2 separate regions of the Homo sapiens genome follow, and region 1 is linked to region 2. Evidence: promoter capture Hi-C in 16 types of primary human blood cells and fetal thymus (Javierre and others, 2016). All regions are on one chromosome and are shown on one strand. Each heading gives the region's core, a stretch centred on a gene start or on the middle of the fragment in contact. The rest is flanking DNA. Distances are from core to core; before and after follow the strand shown.

What was found. Contacts are between HindIII fragments. The CHiCAGO score rates a contact against its expected background, and 5 or more counts as called.
Region 1: the fragment with the promoter of ATG5 here is called in contact with the fragment with the promoter of SESN1 in region 2 in 1 of 17 cell types (total CD4 T cells); the score reaches 6.7 in total CD4 T cells.

What each region holds. Positions count from the first base shown.
Region 1 is chr6:106,324,050-106,329,502 of GRCh38, reverse strand. It overlaps ATG5 (autophagy related 5), which reads left to right and starts at 3,743. Exons shown (of 8, transcript NM_004849.4): 1 at 3,743-3,977. RefSeq lists enhancers at 3,544-3,863, 3,884-3,933. The HindIII fragment of the contact is 6,577 bases long and covers 2,362-5,453 here.
Region 2 is chr6:109,091,053-109,096,522 of GRCh38, reverse strand. SESN1 (sestrin 1) reads left to right here and starts at 1,677. Exons shown (of 10, transcript NM_014454.3): 1 at 1,677-2,728. The coding sequence starts at 2,450. CEP57L1 (centrosomal protein 57 like 1) reads right to left here and starts at 1,016. Exons shown (of 11, transcript NM_001271852.3): 1 at 948-1,016. RefSeq lists enhancers at 1,030-1,289, 2,160-2,309 and a silencer at 1,350-2,049. The HindIII fragment of the contact is 3,523 bases long and covers 1,341-4,863 here.

The DNA of each region.
Region 1 (5,453 bases), core at 2,494-4,993, 2.8 Mb after region 2:
GAAGGAAAGAAGAAATTAGCCATAAAAGACCTTGTTTACCATGCTAAGAAATTTGGAATTTGCCTAGAAGGAATCAATAAAAGGTGTTAAACAGAAGAGTGACATTGTTAGAATGCATTTTAGATAACATACACTGGTTGGATGCTGGGACAGGTAGAGCAGGACTGGAGGCAGGGAGATGGGGGGAAGCTATCCTAATAGTTCAGAAGTGATGAAGGTTAAAGGAAGCATTTTAATAGGATGGGAGAACATTTGAGCATATGTATAGGATGAAGGAAGAAACTAGTAGTAAGGGAAATCTGGGAGATGGGATAATTAGTTGGAGCAGTCAGAAGTGTTAGAGCTGAAGTATTAATAGAAGAATTAAATTAGGCTTAAATCATTCCTCTGAAACCAACAGGACAGAGATAAAAGAGAGCAGAATGGGACCTTGGGTCAGGAAGTAATAGCATGATAACAAGTGATGGTTAGGGTTCATGGAGGCAGTCAAGATAACTTACATTTTAGGAAAGTAGATTTAAATAAGTTTAGAATAAAGTTACGATCCCACAGTTTTGAGTCTTGCACTTTGTGAGGTGTGCAAAAATAAAAGCCAGACTTTACAACTACAAACTATTATAGTGAAAAGAAAAGAGAGCAATTTATTAACAAAGACTTCTTTGGAGTCTCTCCTTAGAAACCAGAATTTGGGAGGAGTTGTGTACTTGACTTTTGTTGAAAAGAGGACTTTATAAACAAGTTCGCACGAGTCAAAGGCTGCCTGAGAGTGCCGAGACCAGCTCGGTCGGGCAGACCCTAACCCAGCGGCGCTAGAGGAATTAAAGACACACACACAGAAATGAGCTGAGAGCCCCGAACAGAGATTTACCCACGTATTTATTAACAGCAAGCCAGTCATTAGCATTGTTTCTATAGCTATTAAATTAACTAAAAGTATCCCTTACGGGAAATGAAGGGATGGGCCGAATTAAAGGAATAGGTTGGGCTAGTTAACTGCATCAGGAGCATGTCCTTAAGGCACAAATCTCTCATGCTATTGTTTGTGGCTTAAGAATGCCTTTAAGCAGTTTTCCGCCCTGGGCGGGCCAGGTGTTCCTTGCCCTCATTCCGGTAAGCCCACAACCTTCCAGCGTGGGCTTTATGGCCATCGTGAACACGTCACAGTGCTGCAGAGATTTAGTTGATGGCCAGTTTTGGGGCCAGTTTATGGCCAGATTTTGGGGGTCTTGTTCCCAACAGAGAGTCACCCCCAATAAGCTAAAACTTGGAGGAAATGGTAAGGCCAACAAAAAGAGCTCTTTAAAAGTTATCTTCATAGAAAAAAAATTAAAAATTTGCAGTGCCACTGATTTGGAGAAAAGGCATAATGTTCACAAATGGAAATGACAGAGACGAAACATACAATTCCCTTTATTTCCAAATTTTTGCTCAAGGAGCATGATCATCATATAGAAACAAGTGTAACAACTATTTAATAGGAATGCTGATAACTGGACCATATCCAGAGGAGAGATATGGCATGTGAAGAATGGCTGAAAGAAATGACAATGTTTATCCCTGAGTGCATTACGGGGCACAAGAGCTACCTTTTCATATTGAAATGCTGTCTTTTAGAAGAAGAGTTAGTTATTTCTGTTGTATGTTGTAGATGGGTGAGGAAGAGAGAAGGACAAGGGGAGAAAGAAAGAAAATGGTCAATTTATAAAAATTACAGGAAGTTGAATTTTAAGTCAAATCAAGTAATCACCTTTCACCTATTGGGTTTCTTCATACATAGTTTCCCCCAAAACAATTTTTTTTTTTTTTTGAGACAGGGTCTCTCTCTGTTACCTAGACTGCAGTGATACAATCATAGCTCACTGCAACCTTGACCTCCTGGGCTCATGTAATCCTCCTTCCTCAACCACTGGAGTAGCTGGGACTGTAGGCGCATGCCACCATGCCCTCCTAATTTTTGTGTTTTTTGTAGAGATGTGGTCTTGCCATGTTGTGCAGGCTGGTCTTGAACTCCTGGGCTCAAGCTATCCTCTTACCTGGGCCTCCCAAAGTGCTGGGATTACAGGCATGAGCCACTGTGCCTGGTCCCAACATTTTGTTAGGAAATAATTTTGAACACACAGCAAAGCTGAACAAATTTTACAGTGAATACCCATTTACAATGAACCTAGATTCTACCATCTAGATTCTACCATTATATTTTACCATTATATTCTACCATTATATTTTACTATATTTGGTTAATCACATATTTATCCATCTATGCGCCCCTAAATCCATCTTATTTTTTAGATACATTTTAAAGGAAATTTTATATACTTTTGTCTGACACTGGGAAGGCAATGCACCTTAATCCCACAAGCTTTCTTACAGAGGCTAATAGCTGTTTACTGGGGACACTGTAGTGAGGATTTCTGCATTGAGTAGGTGAAGAGGACCATAACTGTGGCTTTCAAACTTTTCTGACTGCTACCCTTACTAAGAAATGTATTTCACATTCCTATCCAGTGTACACCACATACATACTGAAGTAAAAATTTTGGGACACAATATTTACCCTTTACATGTGTGAAGCATGCTGATATTTTCTATTTTATTTCATTTAAAAAGATGCTGGGCATGCTTCCCTAACTTGATTTAGATACCCACTAATGTACTGTAATTTACCATTTGAAAATCATTGTACTTAGTCCAACTCCAAGAAGATTTTTCTTTTTAAAAGAATCCTGTGGCTACTACTAGAATTTTCCTTATGTTCCCAATTATCAAGAACCTGTTTTGAGTCTCAGCACAGTACTTACTTAACATGCATGGCGTTAAGGCACGTGTAATTAAGAGAAAAACCTTAAATGCCTGCTAAGACTTCTGGATAGAGCCAATTCAAAGATTCTTTATTAGTAAGTTTACCAATTATTACTATTTTTTTTTTGAGACGGAGTCTCGCTCTTTCGCCCAGGCGGGACTGCGGTGGCCCTATCTTGGCTCACTGCAAGCTCCACCTCCCGGGTTCACGCCATTCTCCTGCCTCAGACTCTCCAGTAGCTGGGACTACAGAAGCCCGCCACCGCGCCCGGCTAATTTTTTTTGTATTTTTAGTAGAGACGGGGTTTCACCGTGTTAGCCATGATGGTCTCGATCTCCTGACCTCGTGATCCGCCCGCCTCGGCCTCCCAAGGTGCTGGGATTACAGGCGTGAGCCACCGCGCCCGGCCCCAATTATTTTTACAAAGAGTAAGATAAAGATATGTACTCTTGGATGGGTGGGAGGGTTCAGTGCTCATATAGTCTTCTGTTAAATTAGGTTATTAATGCCTGCGGTGGTTCCAACAAAGTAGAGAAGAAGATCAAATAAGAAAATGGATGGGAAAGTACTTTGAAAACTAATGTTTTATTAATACTGTTGTGTGATGCCAGGAAGAAAGGGATGTTGCGATCAAGCTCTAGGGAGGCAGTGTTTCAGTATTTTAAAAACTGTTTTTGTGGAACTGTTAAGTTAACCTCCCCAAGCCCCAATAACTACGCTTTGACGCAAGATTCTCAGAAGAGGGTAGAAGCTATGAACTTGGAGAGGTTTGGTCGCGAGTTCAAGCGTACTGCCCCGTTGGCGCATGCTCAAGAGCGACTCGGGCCTCCTTGCTGGGTTAGGCAGAACACGGAGGGCGGAGTTCGGACCACGTGGGGTCTCGTGACGTCATCTCCGGGCGCCGAGGGTGACTGGACTTGTGGTGCGCTGCCAGGGCTCCGCAGCGTTGCCGGTTGTATTCGCTGGATACCAGAGGGCGGAAGTGCAGCAGGGTTCAGCTCCGACCTCCGCGCCGGTGCTTTTTGCGGCTGCGCGGGCTTCCTGGAGTCCTGCTACCGCGTCCCCGCAGGACAGTGTGTCAGGCGGGCAGCTTGCCCCGCCGCCCCACCGGAGCGCGGAATCTGGGCGTCCCCACCAGTGCGGGGAGCCGGAAGGAGGAGCCATAGCTTGGAGTAGGGTACGTGTGTGTGTCCACCTTGTGTGAGGAAATTCCTAGAGGAGGAGGGCTGGGGAGGGGCCAGGTAGGTGTGGTAGGAAGGAGGGGTGAGTAGTTGCCTGGAGGAGCGCCCGCCCGGCCGCGATGGCGGGTGAAGGTGGTTCCTCCGGGCAAGGTGGAGTTGGCGAGACGCCGGCCCGGAGCCCTGGGGCCGGTTGGCGGGTGTGGCCTGCGGGGTCCCTCTTGGGGTACATGTCTGTTGCTTACTAAGGTAGGAAAGCGAGAGTCTAGTCGCAGGCTCTAGAGTTCAGTTCAGGACCTGAATTGTTTGTGGAACACAGTTATTTAAACCTTTATTGCACAGTGCAGTGTGAGTCTGTCCAAACTCGGTGGGTATGTCCTCCAAGCAATTTATCTATTTACGATATTCCCTGTCTCAATAACAATATTTAGTGCTACCAAAGACATTTTCTGTTGGCAAGACACTTTTACATACTTCATTTGTACTTTGGATTATTTTAAAATTATCCTGAACTTGAGGAACCTAGGAAACTATTGGTTCTAGATTTTTCTGAGGGGTGAGGAGGTACAGCCTGTCTTGAGCAATCAGAACCCGGAGACTTACCAGACAGTAGCTGAACTTCCAAAGCCTTCCAGAATTGGCTTGTTAAATTTCTGAGACCTTGAAACTGGATACTTGGCTCTGAACTGAACTATTTGTGATTTCCATAGAGGGAGTTTCTGGTTGAATTTTGAATTTGAAAATAACGATGTTGTGCTCAGGGTAGTAATTGAGAGGTATTTTACACCAGATTTAAGCCTGTGCTTTTATCTTCAAAGATATGCTACTTAAAATTGGGGGAAAGTGTACAGAATGGAACTGTATGGATATGGATTTTTAGAATAGTGCACACACCTCAAGTGTGTATTTATTTCATTAATTTCCCCCAAACTGAGTACCTCCTATGTGTTAGGCACTGGACAAAACAGTAAACAAAATAGTAAACAAAAGAATAAAAATCCCTGCCATCATGAAGTTCCACTTTGGGGATGGGGTGAGAAGACATTGATACAAAAATTAAGGTACAGTCTTTCCTGTCCCTCGGCATCTGTGGGAGATTGGTTCCAGGACCTCCCTTGGATACCAAAGTCCTCAAATGCTCAAGTCCCTGATATAAAATGGTGTAGTGTTTGCAGATAACCTATGCACATCCTCCTATCTTTAGTTCAACTCTGCATTATTTATAATGCGCAATACAACTTAAATGCTGTATAAATAGTTGTTATGGTGTATTGTTTAGGGAATAATGACAAAAAAGAGTCTATACATGTTCAGTACTGACTTTTTTTTCCTTCCCCGAATATTTTTTCATCCATGATTGGTTGAATACAAGGACGAAGAACCCATGGGTAGGAAGGGCCAACTGTGTACGTCAAGTGGCGGAAAGTGCTAGAGAAAAAAACCAAAGCAGTGCAGGGGTATAGGGAATGCCAAGA
Region 2 (5,470 bases), core at 428-2,927:
TTTGGCTTACTGACGTTTCCTGAAAGTACCCTATCTCTCACTCTGGGCCTTAGCATATGCTGTTCTTTTGGTCTTCATTTCCCCTGGGATGAAGATTTCCCTGACTTTCCAAGATTGGGCTAAGTCATCTCCTTCTAGACATCCCAGTGATATCATGTATTATTGTAACCGTATGTCTAACAACTAGTTCCTCTAACTAGTAAGACTGTCTTTTTCATTGTTGTATACTCAGTGCCTAGCAAGACGAAATTTTTAGAATTTAGTGCAATGCAATTCTGCAATGTAAAGAATTAAAATCTACACCGATTATCAGTCCACTGATGGCCGTTCAAACCTCGACTTTTCTCAAATAATAACTTTTTAAAAGCAAACTAATTTTAAGCAAATGACTGAATCTTTTGAAAAAGTCGACTAAGTTTTGGAGACTTTTACGGTTTTGCTTTCTTTTTCCTGCTGTATCCTTAAAGCCTGCAAGAATTCCTATCTAGGAATACTGGGGATTCTTTTACGAGATGGATTTGACAACTTGCTTTCAAAGCCCTGCCTAGGATTTCATTTGACTGAGCAAATAAAGCCCAGAACATCCCTAAGCAAAGGCAAACAAAGGTGCAAATGCGCGGAGATCCCAAATCCACCCCGCGTGTGTCCACAAAAAAGGGCGGAATCAGAGGCAGCAGCGCGAAGCTCCAGTTTCCACAGCATCCTTCCTTCTTGGCCTTACTTAGGCCGCTCCCTGCGACCCTTGGGATCAGGATCCCAAATCCTTGCCTCACCCACCACACCCCGCGCTTGGGCAGCTGGACTAGTCCTTCCCACGCAAGTCACTGGAAAAAGTCCTTGGACTAAGGGAGGCCACCCTAGATGGCTTTGTCTCCAAAATCCCAGAGGAAATGGAGGAAGGAAAAACCCTGTCAAGGAAAGGTGACAACCCAGCTTACAGTGCTTACCAAGCAGACGCTCTCAGTCAGCCCCTGCCACCGCTAACCGTTGGTTCGCGGGCACCCACAGGCAACGTCGCGGTGGCCCCTGGGGGTTGTAGTTTCTGTCGCAAACAAAACGCGCCGGCAGCATCGAAACTACATTCCCCACAAGTCAACGCGAAGACGTCCTACCGACTTAAATCTGGGGTTTGGAGTAATGAAGAGGCCGTCACTACTTTTAGGGTGATCTTAAATGTAGACTCAATTTCTTCCAGGAGTCCCTTCGCGCCCTCTTTCTTTGTCGTGCTTGTTTTATGTGTGACGAAGTCTCAGTGTACTTCTACGTCTTACTTTTTCCTTCCCCTTCTCCAGGACAGAGTCCAAACGTCCGGGAACGGAAACCGCCTCAGGGCGCAAGCTTAGCGCCTCCGGGGGCGCTTGGCCCAGTTCGCAGTCACGCATGCGTAGCAGCCGGCAGTGGCTGGCAGCCGCGCGCGGCGCACTTGGGGTCCGGAGGGTAGCCTGCCAGAGGGCGGGGCTTTTTCCTAAGGCTTTGCCTCGGCGGGTCGCGTCTGCCTGGGCGGGGAAGAAGGCGCTGGGGCCGGGGCGGCTCCCGGTTTGTGCCGGGCGGAGAAAGGGGAGGGGCTGGGGGTGAGGACCCCGTCTCCACTCCCTGCTCCCGCCCTCTGGGCTGATCCCCACCGATGGGGCTGGGCGAAGGGCGGGCTTTGCGCCTCGGGCCCCGCCGCCCCGCCAGCTCCGCGGCCCAGCCTGGCGCTCGAGGATTGCCAGGGCCGCCCTGTGCCCTCTGGCTCGGCGGTGGTGGGCGAGGGCTCAGGGATCGGAGAAGTAGCGTCTTCCCGGGGGTGCCGAATTGGCGGGGCTGGGGGACGCTTTTTTTCACCGCCGCCCGCCGAGACTACGGCTGCCCGAGACTGCCGCCCTCCGACAGCGCCCAAGCCTCCGGCCGCTGCGGCCAGTGGGCCAGGGTTCGGCGAGCCTTCCCTGCCGGCGCCGGCCGGCTGCTGAGGCGCTGGGAGGAGCTGCGGAGGGCGGGGACTGGTGTCGGAGAAGGGGCGGGGTGGGAACGCCGGAGAGAACCCGGTGGCTGCACAGACAAAAAAGCCCCGAATGGCTGGAGGGCGTTCAGCTGTTAACAGCCTTTTGGGGCAGAGCACGGATTTGACAGCTCCACAACGTGAGGATATCCACTGACCCCGCGAGACGGAGGAGAACGCTTCCCCGAAATTCTCTGCCCACCAAAGCCAGCGCTGCAAGGTTGCAACTTTCAAACTTTGTTTTTCCAGAAAGAAGACTGCCCTTTCGTGTACAAGGAGAGGGTGAGAGGGTGACCTAGCTTGTAGATCGGCTGAAGGCACCAGTGGTTCCAAATGTCACCCAGATGTGTGTTTTCATGACGATTTGATTTCTCTGATTTTATTTTTACATTTTTCATTTTAAAAATACAAAGCAATTTTTTTGGGGCATGCTGAAAGGTAACTGAAGACCGCAAAGGAAAAACTATTGTCATGGCTGAAGGAGAGAATGAAGTGAGATGGGATGGACTCTGCAGCAGAGATTCAACTACTAGGGAGACAGCATTGGAAAACATTAGGCAAACCATTTTGAGGAAAACCGAGTATCTTCGTTCGGTGAAAGAAACACCTCATCGTCCATCAGACGGGCTTTCAAATACCGAGTCTTCGGATGGGTTGAATAAGCTACTTGCTCATCTGCTTATGCTTTCTAAGAGGTGTCCCTTCAAAGATGTGAGAGAGAAAAGTGAGTTTATTCTGAAGAGCATCCAGGTAAGGAAGAGCATTTTAAATACAACTATGTCTCTACTACAGTTAAATTTTACTTGCCGTTATTCACGTTGTGTTTGTTTCTATTAGGTTGTTATGTAAACTTTTATTATGAGTTTACATCTTTAGAGTGTTCTGTAAGTAAACAAGTAGTGTTTTTCTAGAGTTTTAGGCAGAAACTGCTTTGCTCCTGGAAGAATATATGAAAACTACAGTTAATTCCAAGTAAATACTTGTTTTTCCTTATATTTCTTTTTACATGTTGTTGGAAAATGTAGCCAGTGTTTTTTTTTCACATTGTCACAGTGTTCTGAGTGTAAAGGCTCACATTTAAAAGCCTCTAAAATGATAAAGGATATTAAATGTTTCCTAGTCAGCCTGTTCAAGATAATTGGTGGAACAATTTTCTCTTATTTTTAAAAACAAAACAAACCAGGATGTGTTCTCTAAATGCAACCTCTCTTTTTTCAAGAAGAGAATTATATAAAATAATAAAAACCTATCTTAAAAGAAGCTAATATCTTCATGTTGAAAAGGTGGACCCAGGTGGGGTATTTGATAGAAACACTTTTATGGCAAATTGCTCAACTAGCTTTCTCTGTGTTTGCCTGAATTGTTTCTTTTTCACATGTGTAGCTATTTAAGATACGAGTGCAGCAGGTTAAAAATATTATAGTTTTTCCTCCATTTCGTTCATAATTTATCCTGTTTTATTACAAGGTGTCTTAGAATACTTTTTTTTAAGTTTTTAGATATTGACAATATTCAGCAACACCTTATATATGCTTGTCAATCTTTACATTTCTCAATCCACGTGTGTTGTCCAAAGTCCTGTATGAGAGATTTTTAAAATTTAAAATGTACTTGGGTAACTATGTAAGTTAAAAGTGACAGTTTTTATATACTGGCTTGAATTTAGTTTAAAGCAACAGAAAAATAATATCCACAAAATGAAGACTCTATTTAAGATCTTGGGATATTTCTTCTCACTAACACTTTGGAAACAATTGTTACAATTCAGAGTTACCCGAGAGGAATTAATATACTAGGTAACTGAAGTTTACCCTTTGAAACACAAAAAGTTATTTCTCTATCTTCTAGACTGTAGTGACTGTAACAACCATTTTTGTCCATAATGGGGTCATCATTATGCATATCAACTATTGTTGTGCAGCAAAGGGTGGAGGACTGACTATATGATCCATTAGTTTTTGTATTTTTGTGTGTAATTTTTATAGTTTTTCTGTTCTTTCCTTTGCCGTCAGGATACTTGACTTTGGTCTCTTCCTGATCTTTCATTTTGCTGCTTAATTCATATTAGAATGGGAAACCAGATAACCAATCGTGTTAAGAGTTATATTGAAAATAAAAGTAAGCAGGCTCTGGGGAGCATAGTATCAAAGGATTTCAATATAATGATAAATAAGTGGGTACTGGAGTCAGAGTTGGGCTCAAATTCCACTCCTTTACTAATGTCCTTGCCTGTAACCTTGGGCAAATTCCTTGACCTTTCTTAGCTTGGATTTCCACATCTGTAAAATGGGAATAACAACACAGAGCTCTTGTGGGAATTAAATCAGATGTAAAGTACTCTGGTATATATAGTAGATGCTCCTCTCCCTTTCATAAGTGAAATACATAGACTATGCAATATATATTTCAAGACTCTTTCATCCTGCAAAAGGACTCAGGAATTTCCTGGGAAGGTTCCCTATAGACTTATACTCTTTTTTTCCATCTCTGCATCTATTGTACAATTATAAAAGGCAATTTACTTATATTGTGTTATAAGCACATGCTTTTGTGTCTGTCTCCCATAGGAAGGCTATGAGTTCTTAAGAGTACTGGCTGGGACCTGGAAGCTACTAAATAAATATCCAGTGGATGAACAAATTTATACTTTCTTTCTGTTTTTCATCAGTAGTCTGAATAGATGAAGTTTTCAGTTTAGGGAGTTTCCACCCCAGCATCATTCATTTATGCTTGCAGTTATGCAACAAATGTTTATTGAACTCCTGCTGAATGTCATTCTGAGAACTGAGGACCAGTGGTAACAATTTTGACATCATACCAAAGGGAAACAGACCATAAAGAAGTAAACAAATATAAAATTTAATTTTAGATAGTAAGGGAAAGCTTTCCTGAGGCAATGACATTTAAGCAGAGACATGATAAATGAATAAATATTACCCATGTAAAGGTGAGATTTGTGAGGGGACATTCCGGACATAGGGAACGGTATGTATGAAGGCCTCATGCCAAGGAGAGCAGATGAGTTCTAGGAGCTGAAAGTAATGCAATATGGCTGGGGCAGACAGTTTGAGGGTGGCGTGAATAGCTTAAGAGGACATACTCTGGAGTTTGGCAGACCTGGCTGCGATACTGTCATGTGTCACTTAATGATGGTGATACACTCTGAGAAATGCATCGTTAGGTGGTATCATATTTGTTTGAACATCATAGGGTGAAATCACACAAACCTAGATACTACACACCTAGGCTATGTGTTATATAGCCTGTTGTTTCTAGGCTACAAACCCGTACAGCGTGTCACTGTACTGAATACGCTTTGGCAATTGTAATGCAATGGTAAGTATTTGTGTATCTAAACATAGAAAAGGTAGAGTAATAATATAGAATTACAATTGACCCTTGAACAGCATAGGTTTGAACTGCATGAGTCCACTTATAGGAAGATTATTTTTTCAATAGAAGTTATACTAAGTTGGGCGGGGTGGCTCACAC